2 separate regions of the Homo sapiens genome follow, and region 2 is linked to region 1. Evidence: promoter capture Hi-C in human tissues and cell types (Jung and others, 2019). All regions are on one chromosome and are shown on one strand. Each heading gives the region's core, a stretch centred on a gene start or on the middle of the fragment in contact. The rest is flanking DNA. Distances are from core to core; before and after follow the strand shown.

Evidence for each region. Contacts are between HindIII fragments. The study calls those that stand out against the background at their distance.
Region 2: a fragment that was not itself captured here is called in contact with the fragment with the promoter of ENTPD6 in region 1 in 2 of the 25 tissues and cell types used here (H1 embryonic stem cells and aorta).

What each region holds. Positions count from the first base shown.
Region 1 is chr20:25,194,334-25,196,964 of GRCh38, reverse strand. ENTPD6 (ectonucleoside triphosphate diphosphohydrolase 6) reads right to left here and starts at 1,253. Exons shown (of 15, transcript NM_001247.5): 1 at 1,098-1,253. LOC101926889 (a long non-coding RNA gene) reads left to right here and starts at 73. Exons shown (of 6, transcript NR_109994.1): 1 at 73-342. RefSeq lists enhancers at 108-257, 638-707, 1,558-1,797 and a silencer at 998-1,417. The HindIII fragment of the contact is 8,888 bases long and covers 1-2,631 here.
Region 2 is chr20:25,107,257-25,109,887 of GRCh38, reverse strand. No RefSeq gene overlaps it. Among named protein-coding and RNA genes, the nearest start is that of VSX1, 26 kb to the right of the region's middle. The HindIII fragment of the contact is 9,109 bases long and covers 1-2,631 here.

The DNA of each region.
Region 1 (2,631 bases), core at 4-2,503:
GGGAGGGGAGGCGCTTCCAGATCTCCTGACACAAAGGGCTGCCCACCTCCCTGGTCCTTTACCCGAACCTTCAGGAGGCAGACGACACACACACTAGCCAGCCACTCTCTCCAAGGCAAGGGGAGGGGGACAAAAAGCAATTTTGAGATTTGTACAGTGCTTGCCAGGTCCTTCAAAAATGACTACCGGCCGCCCATGGCTCTTGCACAGCGGGTGGGAGGAAGAGTCCTTGTAATCCACCTCTCCCAAGGAACTCCTGCGCGAGGTTTCAGATTCCCCGCCTGCAGGCTATGGCTGACTTCCCCGTATCCTGTGTGACGTGGGATGTGTGGCTTCGCGCAGGTAAGGCTGGAATACAGGTGCCTGGAGGGACACCCAGAGCTGCCCAGGCACTTCCCGGCGGCTGCTTCCTTTGCACTTTGCACTTACAGGTGCACTTATAATAAAAACACCCTCCCTTCCACGCTCCCCTGGGCCCTCCCATCTCTCCTTCCTCTTCCACGCTCTCCTGGCTGTTGAATGTTTTCCACTGAAGGAGTCTAGTCTGTCCACCTAGGGGGCTCTCCCTCCCTCGGTCCAGGGCATTCGCGGCTCACAGGTCAGCTCGGGCAGAACCGCCCTGACCACCTATGAGCTCCTCGGGACACCACCCCAATGCCAGGGTGAATCGTCCTTACACCCTCAGTCCTGTCCGAGCGGCCTGATCCTACCTGTTTCCCAGAAACTGCTACGCGAAGCTTCCCCGCCGGGCTCATCCAGGGCGGAGGGGTCTGTCCCTGACGCAGACTGGGGGCGGGTCCGCAAAAGCGGGCTGAATGAATGAACGCAGCAGGGCTGGGGCCCCCTGGGGCTACAGGCCCCTGCTATTTGGCCCGCCCTGTGGCCCAAAACACTGGACTTGCCCCCCACCGGTCAGCGGAGCCCAGACATCCAGGGAGCCCTAATGGAGCCTGGACAGGAAGGCAGCAGGAGGTGGGACCCGGGGTGCGAGTGACCCCGAGGCCGTCCTCCGGAGCGCAGCGCGCCCGCGTGGGGGAGGCCCGCCTACAGTCGGTGATCCCCGGCCGCCCCCGCCAGCGCCCCGGCCCGCCGCTTACCATGCACCGCGCGCTCCGCCACACCCACGGAGACGAGTGCCCTTTTCCGGGGAGCAGGCGGCAGCCGGTCTTTTGGGCTCCCCCGCCCCGGCCGGCGCCACCCCGGCCTCCACCCGCGGGATACGACCCCACGATTCCCTAGGGCCTGGGCTCCGCCCCATGCACGTGGCGTCACAGGCTGGGCGGGGGGGCGCACCCAGCCGCGCATGCGCAGGCGGGAGAGGAGGTGGGGGTCGGGGGACCCAGTTGCGCAGGCGCGGGCGGAGTATGGGTGCTCAGCTGCGTAGGCGCGATGGCCTTCTTTTCTTTCTGCAGGTGGCCTTGCGGTTTTCTCCAGTCCACAGCCGGGCTGGCGTCGGCCCAGAGAGGGGGGCTCGGCAGTCTGGTTCCCCGAGCGTCTCATGGCGGGCCCTCGCCAGATTCAAGGGGTTCCCTTGGCCAGTTTCCTTACGGCGCGGCGGAGCTGGCCCTCGTCGTCCCTGGTAGGGGGCAGCCTCACAGCCTGGACCGGCCTGTGCAATTTCCCCCATCCCTCCACGTCTACATTTTATTTTTTTCTTTTTCTTTTTTTAGGACAATGCATGATGGAAATGCAGCCACATCATAGCAGGCAGGTTCATGAAATCTGCCCTCCTCCCACCGTTTCTTGACCCCATTTTCTTATTTTTTTTTTTAACAGGTTCTCACCCAGGCTGGAGTGCAGTGATGTGGTCTCAGCTCACTGCAACCTCTGCCTCCCGGGTTCAAGCGATTCTGTTGCCTCAGCTTCCTGAGTAGCTGGGATTACAGGTGTGCGCCACCACGCCTGGCTAATTTTTGTACCTTTAGTAGTGACGAGGTTTCGCCCTGTTGGTCAGGCTGGTCTCGAACTCCTGACCTAAGGTGATCCGCCTGCCTCGGCCTCCCAAAGTGCTGGGTCTATAGGCATAAGCCACCACACCCGGCCCTTGACCCCATTTTCTGTCTTCCTAGAAATCACCAAGGTTGCAACTCCTGACTGTCCTGGCTCACAGGCTCCAGCTTACTTAAGGACCCCACGGTGGGGGCTGCCCACTTGCACACCTATGCTAGGCGCCCTCATTCCCGCAAGGGCCAGAGCCCCTTCCCGGCCCATGGCGTCTGGCCAAGGAGGTGTGGGTGCGCCCCAGCCAGGCCTGGTCCTAGAGGACGGCCCCACCTGCGCACTGGGGCATCTGGGAGAGCTATTAGTGGAAGAAGCCCAGGTTCCTGAAGCACCAAGTGGGCAAGAGTTTATTTTCAGGATGGGACGCTTTTGAGGGTGAATAAGTGCTAGCTGTATGGGATGCGGGGACAGTACACAGGCCCGGCCTGGCAGCCGGGCAATGCGGTGCCTGTTGGAAGGTCGCCCACAAGCACCTGGTTGGACACTGCCACTGAGATTTGGTTATTACAGAGGTTAGCCTATGCGGGCCTTCACTGATGGACCTTGAAGTGTTTCCCAGTTGCTTTGGGTTAGGAATAATGTGACTGGATCCCGTGGATTGTCTTTGTGCATGCATGTGGGTATATCTGT
Region 2 (2,631 bases), core at 72-2,571, 87 kb after region 1:
TTCCAATTCTGTGAAGAAAGTCATTGGTAGCTTGATGGGGATAGCATTGAATCTATAAATTACCTTGGGCAGTATGGTCATTTTCACGATATTGATTCTTCCTATCCATGAGCATGAAATGTTTTTCTGTTTGTTTGTGTCCTCTTTTATTTCATTGAGCAGTGGTTTGTAGTTCTCCTTGAAGAGGTCCTTCACATCCCTTGTAAGTTGGATTCCTAGGTATTTTATTATCTTTGTAGCAATTGTGAATGGGAGTTCGCTCATGATTTGGCTCTCTGTTTGTCTGTTTATTGGTGTATAAGAATGCTTGTGATTTTTGCACATTGATTTTGTATCCTGAGACTTTGCTGATGTTGCTTATCAACTTAAGGAGATTTTGGGCTGAGGCGATGGGGTTTTCTAGATATTCAATCATGTCATCTGCGAACAGGGACAATTTGACTTCCTCTTTTCCTAATTGAATATCCTTTATTTCTTTCTCCTTCTTGATTGCCCTGGCCAGAACTTCCAACACTATGTTGAATAGGAGTGGTGAGAGAGAGCATCCCTGTCTTGTGCCATTTTCAAAGGGAATGCTTCCAGTTTTTGCCCATTCAGTATGATATTGGCTGTGGGTTTGTCATAAATAGCTCTTATTATTTTGAGATATGTCCAATCACTACCAAATTTATTGAGAGTGTTTAGCATGAAGGGCTCTTGAATTTTTTTGAAGGCCTTTTCTGCATCTATTGAGATAATCATATGGTTTTTGTCTTTGGTTCTGTTCATATGATGGATTAATTTTATTGATTTGTGTATGTTGAAGCAGCCTTGCATCCCAGGGATGAAATGGACTTGATCGTGGTGGATAAGCTCTTTGATGTGCTACTGGATTCGGTTTGCCAGTATTTTGTGGAGGATTTTTGCTTCGGTGTTCATCAGGGATATTGGTGTAAAATTCTCTTTTTCGTTGTGTCTCTGCCAGGCTTTGGTATCAGGATGATCCTGGCTTCATAAAATGAGTTAGGGAGGATTCCCTCTTTTTCTATTGATTGGAATAGTTTCAGAAGGAATGGTAGCAGCTCCTCTTTGTATCTCTGGTAGAATTCAGCTGTGAATCCGTCTGGTCCTGGACTTTTTCTGGTTGGTAGGCTATTAATTATTGCCTCAATTTCAGAGCCTGTTATTGGTCTCTTCAGGGATTCAACTTCTTCCTGGTTTAGTTTTGGGAGGGTGTATGTGTCCAGGAATTTATCCATTTCTCCTAGATTTTCTAGTTTATTTGCGTAGAGGTGTTTATAGTATTCTCTGATGATAGTTTGTATTTCTGTGGGATCAGTGGTCATATCTCCATTATCATTTTTTATTGTGTCTATTTGATTCTGCTCTCTTCTCTTCTTTATTAGTCTTGCTAGTGGTCTATCAGTTTTGTTGATCTTTTCAAAAAACCAGCTCCTGGATTCATTGATTTTTTAAGGGTTTTTTTGTGTCTCTGTCTCCTTCAGTTCTGCTCTGATCTTAGTTATTTCTTGCCTTCTGCTAGCTTTTGAATGTGTTTGCTCTTGCTTCTCTAGTTCTTTTAATTGTGATGTTAGGGTGTCAATTTTAGATCTTTCCTGCTTTCTCTTGTGGGCATTTAGTGCTGTAAATTTCCCTCTACACACTGCTTTAAATGTGTCCCAGAGATTCTGGTATGTTGTGTCTTTGTTCTCATTGGTTTCAAAGAACATCTTCATTTCTGCCTTCATTTCTTTATTTACCCAGTAGTCATTCAGGAGCAGGTTGTTCAGTTTCCATGTGGTTGTGTGGTTTTGAGTGAGTTTCTTAATCCTGAGTTCTAGTTTGATTGCACTGTGGTCTGAGAGACAGTTTGTTATAATTTCTGTTCTTTTACATTTGCTGAGGAGTGCTTTACTTCCAACTACATGGTTAATTTTGGAATAAGTGCAATGTGGTGCTGAGAAAAATGTATATTCCATTGATTTGGGGTGGAGAGTTCTGTAGATGTCTGTTAGGTCTGCTTGGTGCAGAGCTGAGTTCAATTCCTGGATATCCTTGTTACCTTTCTGTCTCATTGATCTGTCTAATGTTGATAGTGGGGTGTTAAAGTCTCCCATTATTATGGTGCGGGAGTCTAAGTCTCTTTGTAGGTCTCTTAGGACTTGCTTTATGAATCTGGGTGCTCCTGTATTGGGTGCATATATATTTATGATAGTTAGCTCTTCTTATTGAATTGATCCCTTTACCACTATGTAATGACCTTCTTTGTCTTTTCTGATATTTGTTGGTTTAAAGTCTGTTTTATCAGAGACTAGGATTGCAACCCCTGCTTTTTTTTTTTGTATTCCATTTGCTTGGTATATCTTCCTCCATCCCTTTATTTTGAGCCCATGTGTGTCTCTGCATGTGAGATGGGTCTCCTGACTACAGCACACTGATTGTTCTTAACTCTTTATCCAATTTGCTAGTCTGTGTCTTTTAATTGGGGCATTTAGCCCATTTACATTTAAGGTCAGTATTGTTATGTGTGAATTTGATCCTGTGACTGTGATGTTAGCTGGTAATTTTGCTCATTAGTTGATGCAGTTTCTTCCTAGCATCAATGGTCTTTACAATTTGGCATGTTTTTGCAGTGGCTGGTACTGGTTGTTC